Regions from separate parts of the Homo sapiens genome. Here region 2 is linked to region 1. Evidence: promoter capture Hi-C in human tissues and cell types (Jung and others, 2019). All regions are on one chromosome and are shown on one strand. The core of a region is centred on a gene start or on the middle of the fragment in contact, and the rest is flanking DNA. Distances in the headings are between cores, read along the strand shown.

Region 1 (5,720 bases), core at 2,327-4,826:
CTGGCCTATTTATTTATTTGTTAATTTTTTTAAAAAAAATTGAGATTGCAGGAAATAATTTTTAAATTTAATTTTAGTTTTAAAACGGAGATTGCAGGAAACAAATATGCTCACTTTTCAAGGTCCTTCTCTGGCTTCCTCTGGAGACTGGAGATCAGGGCTGGGAGGTCTGCACCTGGCTAGGTCACGTGTCTGTCAATGCCCCTGTATCTTTACCACTGCAGCCTTGACCCAGTGTCTCACTGACACTACTCCCTGCTCCTCTCATCCTAGACCACATTTGGTTTCCAGAACTCTCACAGTTGGGCATGTTTTGGTTGCTGGTAACAGAAAAGTCAACTTAAACTGGTCTTAACAATAAAGACAATTTATTGGCTCATGGAACCGAAGAAAGTACAGAGAGAAGATGGCCTCTGGGCATGGTTTGTTCAGGACTCTTGGTCTGTTTCTCTGATTCTCTCAACTCTGCCTTCTTCTGTGTGTTGGTTTTTTCCTTGGACTGTTTTTGCCATTTATGGTAGCAAAATGGCTGCTGACTGCAACAAGACTATATACTTGCTTTTCCACATTCATTGAGCAAACATCTGAACTTTGCTCTGACTGGATCATCTTGGGTCACAGACTCACTCCCTGAGCCTGTTGCTGTGGTTACGAGGACGTCACTGGGGAGAGAGGAGAAACCTCCCTCTACCCCTTTCCTCTACTTTGATCCCAGATCCAAGTGGATTCTTCTGGAGGAATGAGAAGAGATGCTGAAGCTGGCATAAGGCTGATGCAGGGACAAAATAGATGTTCTTACAGCCACATTGTGCTGTTCACATGGTCTGTGCAGAAGTCATCATGTTTAAAACAGAGTGGTAAGAAGATGTCACCCAAAGAGATACTACATTTTGCCAGTTGACTGGCATTCGGGCTGCACCTGTCACAGCTTTCTTTGTGGCATTAGGAGCTCTACATGGAATGGAAAAATGCTTCTCAGCAGGAACATTCTAGGCCATTTTAAGAGGGCACAGTTATAAGTGGGAAGTGAGGTATAGAAGATAGGTTGGGTGGGCTGACTTGCTGGAACATTTTGAAGTGGGTAAAATTTTATTCTAAACTCATCTATATGTGCTTTCTCCCTCCTTCAGTGAAATGCTCGTCCTACTGCGAAGTGAAAGGTTCTTTCCACCCTTGTCCTCCAGATGCAACTTCTCCTGGAGACCCCAGCATTGCTGTTGCCCTCACCACACTCATGCAGCAGGGCTGCTCCCCTTCACTCCTCGGGCTCCAGGAGACCAGCCTCTTCCCTAACCCCTCAGTGATTCCTTGAAATAGACTGGAATAGTGAACCGACTTACTGAGGGTTTAGGAAAAGCAGAAGGGAACTATACACCAAGAAGAACTTAACATACGGTGTTAAATATACCTGCTCTTGGCCCTGGTCTTTCTCAAGGGGGTGTCTCACAGGGGATTCCCTGTCTAGCAACTGCTGCCCCCTTGTGGCAAAAACTATCCTTCTCCCGGCCTCAGGGTCTTTCTTGAGTATAGGCAGGTGTTTTGCAGTCTAGGCCCCCGTCTTTTTTCTCCTGTGTCCCCAGTGACTATTTTCTGCCCTTGGGGCTGATTTTCCCTAGATGATTAATAGAGGGAGTCTCCCACCTCCTGGGACTACCCCATCTTTGACTCCTTTCTAGTCTAGGCGTTAGAGCACAATAGTCCAACATCAGTAAAAGCAAAGCATGAGTGGCTATTGTCCCCTTACACTTCCTGTTACCATCTATGAATGATAAAAGAGCCCAGGAGGAAAGCACAACTTAGCTTAAAAAATAGGCTTGCCGGCTGGGCATGGTGGCTTATGCCTGTAATCCCAGTGCTTTGGGAGGCAAAGGCAGGAGGATCACTAGAGGCTAGGAGTTCAAGATAAGCCTGGGCAGTATATCAGGACCCTTTCTCTACAAATAAATAAATAACTAAATAAAAAATAAAAATAAAAATATAATATAAAAAAAGAAAGCCAGATGTAGTGGCTCTTGCCTGTAGTCCCAGCTATTCAGGAGGTTGAGGTGGGAGGATTGCTTGAGCCCAGGCATTTGAGGTTACACTGAGCTATGATCACACCACTGCATTCTAGCCTTGGCAACACAGTGAGAGCCTGTCTCTTAAAAAAAGAAAAAAATTCTTTCCAGTGCAGAACTGTAGGAATCCATGGCATGGTAAATTTGGCATTTGTGGTAGGGCAGGATTTATACTTGCACAGACTGGCATTAGCTCCAAACATTAGAGGAAGGTTGGAAAGAAGCAATGCCAGGCAGACCAACTGGGCTGTGTGGAAGTGAAGCTATCAGGCATACCAGTGACTTTAGTGTGTAGCCAAAAGCAATAGACACTGAATCGTGGTGGTGACTTATGGTCCATGAATCACAGGAGAAATGTCTCCCTTCATTTATTCCACAACCATTGATTGAGCACCTACTATATTCCCTGAAAGAGAACATAAACATGAATTGAAGAAGGTTCTTGCTGTCTCATGGCTCCCAAGCTAGAAGAGGGCTGACTTGTAAATGCCTCACAGCAGGGTTCATGTTATATGGAGAAGTGACGAAGGTGCCAGAAGACTCAAGCTAGGGGACAGCCATTAGCTGCTGGAGGCAGCTAAGGTGGGTTCCCAGAGAAGCCATTCTCCGTTACTGAGATGGGGGCTGCAGTGACCTTGACCACAGCTCTTCCATTCATGGACTGCCCCAGCTCTGTGGTCTCTCTGCTAACCAGCCAGACTCTGGGAGTGGCCTATGCCGTCAGCCTCAGGGCCATTTAAACCAACTGGTCATTGGCAGTGATTGTGCGAAAGAGTGGCTGGCGGCAAAGGAGGGTTTGTGTTCCATTCAAATACCCTCAAAAAGCCTGAAAAATAAGTAGAGATTGAGGCCAGGCCTTGGAGTTGTGGAAGGTGGAGAACACTGGGAAGCCAACCTCCAAAGAAGACCAGGTTGGAGGCAAAGGAGGAAGGGGAGCTCTCGTTGGCAAACCAACAGGGAAGCCAAGGATATCCCAGTAACTGCTCTCACATCCTTGATGAGAATGCCTTGAATCCGAGCTAGGCCACCTCAAAGAAGCCTGCAAAATAAGTAGAGATTGAGTGCCTGCTGTTCAAACACAACTCAAGCGCAGTCCTCCTCCTCTTTCCCACTGGATTGCCCCCAAGTCCCTCCTATGGGGGACTCCTTCTGAAGTCTCTGCTGTAAGTCAAATCCTTCGCCCTTTATACTTGGTCAGGAAGTTGCAAGCTTCCACAGGTGATATACTAGGGAATTTAGGAATAAACAAATGGAAATAAATTCAAGAAAAGGAAAATAATAAAAATGATCATCCATAGAGTGGAGAATTCAGATAATGGACCCTCAACCCCAGCTTCACACCTGGGACCCCCACTTGGTCATATGGACCCTGGCAGTCTCTAATCACAAGTCTGTGATCCCTTGACTTAAACTGTTCTTCCCCAAATGTAGACATGGGTGGGGCTCAGAAGGGAGGTGTCATCTGATGTGGTTTCCTTATTTCCGTTTATTCATCAAGTGCCCTCTAGCTGTTAAGTCACTCTGATCTCTGACTGCAGCTCCTACTGTTGGACACACCTGGCCGGTGCTTCAGGTAGGAAGCCACCTCTGTTTGCTAGGACTTTCTGTGGGGTAGGGCTGCTTGGCTTGACTTTATTTTGGAAAATGTATTCATTTCTGTGGGAGCTGAGGATTTCTGCTGCCCGCTTCCTCTCTTGTGACCACCACTCATACATGGAGTTAGCAGGTGAAGAGGACAGCCTCCTCATCCCCTCTTTTTATACCTTGCCCTTTTGTGGGAAGAGGCTGACCATTCCCCAATTTGATGTTTATTGCTTCACCTTAAGACTTTGTCTTCAGTGAAAATGCAAATACTGGTAGGGAGGGAACACACTAAAATGTGTGGATCTGAGTGGACTCATCATACACCCTCAGGCCTGGCAGCAAATGAGAGGTGGATGATTCTGTCTTCCTCGATTTGCAGATGAGAAGACTGAAATCTATAGGGGTACGAGACCCCACTCAAGGTCATGAGACTTATTTATTTATTTATTTATTTATTTTGAGATGGAGTCTCACTCTGTCGCCTAGGCTGTAGTACTGTGGCACGATCTCGGCTCACTGCAACCTCCATTTCCCGGGTTCAAGTGATTCTCCTGCCTCAGCCTCCTGAGTAGTTGGGATTACAGGTGCACGCCACCACACCCAGCTAATTTTTTTGTATTTTTAGTAGAGACGGGGTTTCATCATTTTGGTCAGGCTGGTCTCGAACTCCTGACTTCATGATCTGCCTGCCTTGGCCTCCCAAAGGGCTGGGATTACACACGAAACTTATTAATGGTAGAATCAGGATGGAATGAAGACTGGATGCTAGGTGTCTTTACAACCAACCTCGGTGACTTTCCAAAGGCTTTCAGACTTCTCTGGAGAGTCCTGGAGCTTTGAGGGGCTCTTTAGGGGCCATCTGGGTTCGGAGATTAGCACACTCTGCCCCACAGTGGCTCAGCTTTTATCTGCTTCACATACTGGGCTTCTGGGAAGATCTTATTTCAGTAAACTATTTCACAATAGGAAATATATTTGAAAACTCTTGAATGATTCTGTGGATTTTTTCAGGGGTGGAGGGTTTCAGGGACCAAGATGGAGACTTTATCTTCTCAAATACTTAAAACTCCTTTAGACAGAGGAACAAAATATGTGCTCCTCATTTAAAGAAGGCTTAAAATATACAGTTTAATGCAATGTGTTGTTATCACTTCCTTCCCCCAGTAGATTTTAAGGAGGGTAAACAAGAATCAGGGAGAACATAGGAATAGAAATAGTAGAAGGGGACACCTGGGAACAGGTTTGCCTTCTTGCATTTTGCTTAATGCTGGCCCTTCCCTGAATGTCTAAGACCAACCTGGTCCCCACATCCAAATGCACAGACACAGCTGAGGATGGAGAAGGCTAAAGAGGGACAGAGGTAGAGACATAGGCTGAGAGGAGGCAGTTGTAGGTTGAGCTAGGGCTAAGGTGTTTTCCCCATATTCCATCTTACCCCACACTCAGGCCAGGCCTTAGAGTTGTGGAAGGTGGAGAACACTGGGAAGCCAACCTCCGAAGAAGACCAGGTTGGAGTCAAAGGAGGAAGGAGAGCTCTCATTGCCAAACCAACAGGGAAGCCAAGGATATCCCAGTAACTGCTCTCACATCATTGATGAGAATGCCTTGAATCCGAGCTACTAAATCACATTTCCTTCCTTCTAACCTTCCAGTTAGATCAAACCATTGCTGAAACTGAAGAGGACATGTCAAATATTACAGATCCACAGATGTGGGATTTTGATGATCTAAATTTCACTGGCATGCCACCTGCAGATGAAGATTACAGCCCCTGTATGCTAGAAACTGAGACACTCAACAAGTATGTTGTGATCATCGCCTATGCCCTAGTGTTCCTGCTGAGCCTGCTGGGAAACTCCCTGGTGATGCTGGTCATCTTATACAGCAGGGTCGGCCGCTCCGTCACTGATGTCTACCTGCTGAACCTGGCCTTGGCCGACCTACTCTTTGCCCTGACCTTGCCCATCTGGGCCGCCTCCAAGGTGAATGGCTGGATTTTTGGCACATTCCTGTGCAAGGTGGTCTCACTCCTGAAGGAAGTCAACTTCTACAGTGGCATCCTGCTGTTGGCCTGCATCA
Region 2 (5,720 bases), core at 827-3,326, 39 kb before region 1:
AGCTACTGGAGAGGTTGAGGTGGAAGGATTGCTTTAGTCCGGGAATACTATGCAGCCATGGCTGCAGTGAGCTATGTTTGTGCCACTACATTCCAGTCTGGGTGGCAGGGTGAGACTGTGTCTCTGAAAAAAAAAAAAAAGATATTCTAGGCAAACTGTAACCAAAATAGAGCTGGAATGGCTATGCTAGTATCAGAAAGAATATATTTTAAGTCAAGAATTGTTATAAGAGACAAAAAGTGTTTATATTGATAATAGGATCAATTCATCAGGAAAATATAATAATTATAAACATATACACATCAAACAACAGAGTCCAAAATATATAAAGCAAATATGGACAGAATTAAAGGGAAAAATAGTTCTACGATAATAGTTGGAGACTTCAATGTCCTACTTTCAATAATAGAGTGAACACCTAGACAGAAGATTGGCAAGGAAATAGAGGACTTGAAGAACATCATAAACTAACTAGACTGCAGATAACACAGATCACTCCACATAACAACAGCAGAATATACTTCTCAAGTGTACATGGAGCAGTTTCTAGGATAGAACATATGCTAGGCCAGAAAATGATTCTCAATACATTAAAAAAATCAAAATCATACAAAGTATCCTCTTCAACCACAGTGGAATGAAGATACAAATAAATAGCAGAAGAAAAAAACTGGAAAATTCACAAAGACAGGGAAATTGAACAACACATTTTTAGCCAATTTAAAGAAGAATTAACACCAACTCTACTCAAACATTTCCAAAAAATGGAAGAGGAACGAACATTTTCTAACACATTCTATGAGGCCAGTATTACTCTGATATCCAGACAAAGATGCCATGAGAGAAGCGAAATTCAGGCCAATATCTCTATGAATAGACACAGGAATCCCCAACCAAATGCTAGCAAACTAAATCCAATAGCACTTTATAATAATTGGCTGGGTGTGGTGGCTCGCGCCTGTAATCCCATGACTTTGGGAGGTTGAGGCAGGAGGATCGCTAGAGGTCAGGAGTTTGAGACCAGCCTGGCCAACATGGGGAATGCTATCTCTACAAAAAAACAAAAATTAGCTGGTGTGATGGCATGTGCCTGTAATTCCAGCTATGGAGGCTGACACATGAGAATCACTTGAACCCTGGAGGCAGAGGTTGCAGTGAGCTGAGATTGCACCACTGTGCTCCAGCCTGGACAACCAGAATGAGACCCTGTCTCAAACAAACAAACAAACAAACAAACAAACAAACAGAATCACATACCATGTCTAAGTGGAATTTATCCCAGAAACCAAGAGTGGTTCAACACAAGGAAATCAATCAATGTGATATGCCACAATAATAAAATGACAAGAAAAAACATGGTCATCTCAATAGATGCAGAAAAAGCATTTGATAAAATTCAGCACCTTTTGATGATAAAAACTCAGAACACTGGAAATAGTAGGTGCTATGATTTGAATGTATGTGTCCCTCCAAAATTCATATGTTGAAACTCAACCCCAATGCAATAGAATTAAGATGTGGGTCCTGAAGGAGGTTATTAGTGCCCTCATAAAAGGGCTTGAGAGAACTAACTGGCTCCCCTTTCCCCTTTAATCTCTTCTGCTACGTGAGGACACCGTGTTGGTCTCCTTTTGCCCTTCTACCTTTTCCTGCTTATTGTGAGGATGCCTCAAGAAAATGCTATATATGGAACAGGCCCTCACCAAACACCAAATCTTCTGGCATTTTGGTGTTGGACTTCCCAGCCTCCAGAACTGTGAGAAGCAAATTTCTTTCTTCTTTTTGGTGGTGAGGAGACAGGGTCTCGCTCTGTTGCCCAGGCTGGAGTGCAGTGACAAGATCCTGGCTCACTGCTGCCTCAAACTCCTTGGCTCGAGCAGTCCTCCCACTTCAGCTTCCCAAGTAGCTGGGACTGTAGGTGCCTGCCATCATGCCTAGCTAATTTTTAAATGTCTAATAGAGATAAGTCCTCGCTATGTTACCTGAGGTGGTCTTGAACTCCTGGCCTCAAATAATCTTCCCACTTTGGCCTCCCAAATTGTTGGTATTACAGGCATGAGCCATTGTGCCTGGCAGAAATACATTTCTATTATTTGTAAATTACTCACTCTAAGGTATTTTGTGATAGCAGCAGAATGGGTTAAGATAAAAGGGAACTTCCTTTACATGATAAAGGGCATTTATGAAAAAAATCCCACAACACATCATTCTCAATGGTGAAAGACTAAAAGCTTAGTTTCTAGAATCAGAAGCAAGACAAAGATGTCTGTTGTCATCTGTGCTATTCAACATTATACTGGAAGTCCTAGACAGAGCAATTTGGCAAGAAAAATAAATAAAAGGCCTCTAAATAGCAAAATAAGAAGTAAAACTACCACGATTTGTAGATGACTTGGCTCTCTGTATAGAAAATCCCATAGAATCTCAAAAACCTACTATAGCTGGTAAAGGAATTAAGCAAAGTTGGTGCAAGGCCAACATACAAACATGAGCTCTGTTTCTTTACACTAGCAGTGAACAATCTGAAAAGGAAATTAAGAAAACAATTCAATTTACAGTAGCATCCGAGAGAATAAATTACCTTGGAATAAATTTAACTGAGGAGGTGAAAGACTTGTACACCAAAAACTAAAAACATTGATGGAAGAAACTAAGGAAGACCTAAATGAATGGAAAGACATCCCATGTTCATGGGTTGGGAGTGTTAATATTGTTAAGATGGCAATATTCCCCAAAGCAATCTATAGATTCAATGTAATCCCGATCAAAATTCCAATGGTCTTTTTTTTGGAGAAATTGAAACTTATCCTCAAGTTCCTATAAAACTGCAGGGACAGGCTGGGTACAGTGGCTCATGCCTGTAATTCCAGCACTTTGGTAGACTGAGGTGGGCAGATCATGGGGTCAGGAGATCAAGACCATCCTGGCCAACATGGTGAAGTCCTGTCTTTACTAAAAATACAAAAATTAGTTGGGCATGGTGGTGCATGCCTGTAGTCCCAGCTACTTGGAAGGCTGAGGCAGGAGAATTGCTTGAACCCGGGAGGCGGAGGCTGCAGTGAGCCGAGATCACGCCACTGCGCTCTAGCTTGGGCAACAGAGCGAGACTCTGTCTCAAAAAGAAAAAAAACAAAAAACAAAAAACAATACCCAGAGAACTGCAGGGACCTCTGAATAGCCAAAACAATATTTAAAAAGAAAAAGAAAATTGAAAGACTCACACTTCCTGATTTCCAAACTTACCAGGAAGGTACCTGATTTCCAAACTTCCCAGGAAGGTGTTTTTGAGACAGGGCCTAACTCTGTCACCTAGGCTGGAGTGCAGTGGCACAATCTTGGCTCACTGCAACCCCTGGGCCCTGGACTCAAGTGATTTTCCCATCTCAGCCTCCCAAGTAGCTGGGACTACAGGTGCACACTACCACATTTGGCTAATTAAAAAAATATTTTTTTTTCTGGAGAGTTGAGGTCTCACTATATTGCCCACGCTGAAGTGTGGTACTTGTATAAAGACAGACACATATAGACCAATAAAATAGAATTGAGAGTTTAGCAATAAAACCAAACATCTATGGTCAATTGATTTTTTACAAGGGTGCCATTTAATGGGAGGAAAGAAGAGTCTCTTTAACAGATTGTGGTGGGACAATGGGATAACCACATGCAAAAGAAAAAATGAATTCATACCCTTGCCTCATTCCACATGCAAAAACTAATTCAAACTGGATCAACAACCTAAATGTAAATGATAAAACTATTAGAAGAAAACATGAGGTAAATCTTCATGACCTCAGATTTGGCACTCAAATCTTGAGCAACAGAGAAAGAAAAAGATAACTTGTTCTTTCTTTCTTTCTTTTTTTTTTCTCTTGAGACAGAGTCTCACTCTGTTGCCTAGGCTGGAGTGCAGTGGTGCGATCTCGGCTCACCGAAACCTCTGCCTCCCGAGTTCAAGTGATTCACCTGCCTCAGTCTCCCAAGTAGCTGGGACTATAGGTGTGCGCCACCATGCCATGCTAATTTTTGTATTTTTAGTAGAGACAGGGTTTCACCATGTTGGCCAGGCTGGTTGCGAACTCCTGACCTCAGGTGATCCACCTGTCTCAGCCTCCCAAAGTGCTGGGATTACAGGTGTGAGCCACTGTGCCCAGCCAAATTGTTCTTTCTTAAAATTAAAAACTTGTGATAGACGTGTACCAACTGTTCCTCCAAACCTGAGATGAGTCAGCCAAGAACTGCCATCAAGTACATTAAGCTGAAGGTCTGAACCTATGTAATACAATAGGTTGTGCTATTTACAGAAAATGAGTGACTAAACAAAAAAAATTTTTTTAATTAATAGAGATGGGGTCTCACTATGTTGCCCAGGCTGGTCTTGAACTCCTGGGCTTAAGTGATCCCCCGCCTCAGCCTCCCAAAGTGCTGGGATTACAGGCGTGATCCACTGTGCCCAGCCTGTTGTTTAAATTTTAAGTGGTTTAATGGGTCTCCCAAGGAGTTACCTGCTTTGGAAAATCGCATATATTGAACCTCTCGTTTTGGTATAGAAAGAGATGTGGCTGGGCGCGGTGGCTCACGCCTGTAATCCCAGCACTTTGGGGGGCTGAGGTGGGTGGATCATGAGGTCAGGAGATAGAGACCATCCTGGCTAACACAGTGAAACCCCGTCTCTACTAAAAATACAAAAAATTAGCCGAGTGTGTTGGCACGCGCCTGTAGTCCCAGTTACTCGGGAGGCTGAGGCAGGAGAATCGCTTTAACCCAGGAGGTGGAGGTTGCAGGGAGCCTAGATCAGGCCATTGCACTCCAGCCTGGGTCACAGAGCGAGACTCCATCTCAAAAAAAAAAAAAAAAAGAGAGATGCATCACTTTTGTTAGTAGAAAATTTCTCCTTGTCTCTACTGAAAAAATGTTGAGTTGAAGGAACGGGAAATTATTAACTTGCCTGAGGTGTTCTCATGACTTGATCCAGTTAAGTTAGGAGGAGCAAATGTGACAGTGGAGATTAAGGAGATATTTTTTAAAAATTATTTATTTATTTATTTATTTTCGAGACAGGGTCTTGCCCTGTCACCCAGGCTGGAGTGCAGTGGCGTAATCATAGCTCACTGCAGGCTTGATCTCTCAGGCTTAAGCAATCCTACAGCCTTAGCCTGCCAAGTAGCTGGGACCACAGGTCCACACCACCATGCCTGACTAATTCTTTTGATTTTTAATACAGACAGGGTCTTGGCATGTTTCCCAGGCTGATCTCAAACTCCTGGGCTCAAGCAGTCCTCCTGCCTCAGCCTCCCAAAGTGCTGGGAGGTGTGAGCCACTGTGCCAGGCCGAAAGATACTCTATTTGGATAGGAGATGATGGCAGTTTACTCTGGGTGGAGTAGTGGAGATGGAGAAAAGTGGAGTTTTTGAGAAATTATTTCAGTGAAAAAATCAAAAATTTCTGGTGATGGACAGATGCTCCACTAGTTTTCTATGCTGAGTAACAAATTACCACAAACTTAGCAGCCCCAAATAACACCCATTTATTATCTTACAGTTTACATGGGTCAAGAGTCTAGGCACAACTTAACTGGGTCCCCTGCTCAGGGACTCACCAGACTTCAGACCAAGTATTGACATGGGCTGTAATTTCATCAGAGTCTCAACCAGGGAAAGGTCAATTTGCAAGCTTCCTCAGGTTATTGGCAAATTCATCTCCTTGCAGTTGTAGCACTGAGG

The links. The method cuts DNA at HindIII sites, captures the fragments that hold promoters and counts their contacts. A contact is called where the count stands out against the background at its distance.
Region 2: a fragment that was not itself captured here is called in contact with the fragment with the promoter of CXCR1 in region 1 in 1 of the 25 tissues and cell types used here (IMR-90 fibroblasts).

What each region holds. Positions count from the first base shown.
Region 1 is chr2:218,164,818-218,170,537 of GRCh38, reverse strand. It overlaps CXCR1 (C-X-C motif chemokine receptor 1), which reads left to right and starts at 3,576. Exons shown (of 2, transcript NM_000634.3): 1 at 3,576-3,630; 2 at 5,294-5,720. The coding sequence starts at 5,327. The HindIII fragment of the contact is 8,483 bases long and covers 1-5,720 here.
Region 2 is chr2:218,201,915-218,207,634 of GRCh38, reverse strand. No RefSeq gene overlaps it. Among named protein-coding and RNA genes, the nearest start is that of ARPC2, 12 kb to the left of the region's middle. The HindIII fragment of the contact is 3,750 bases long and covers 202-3,951 here.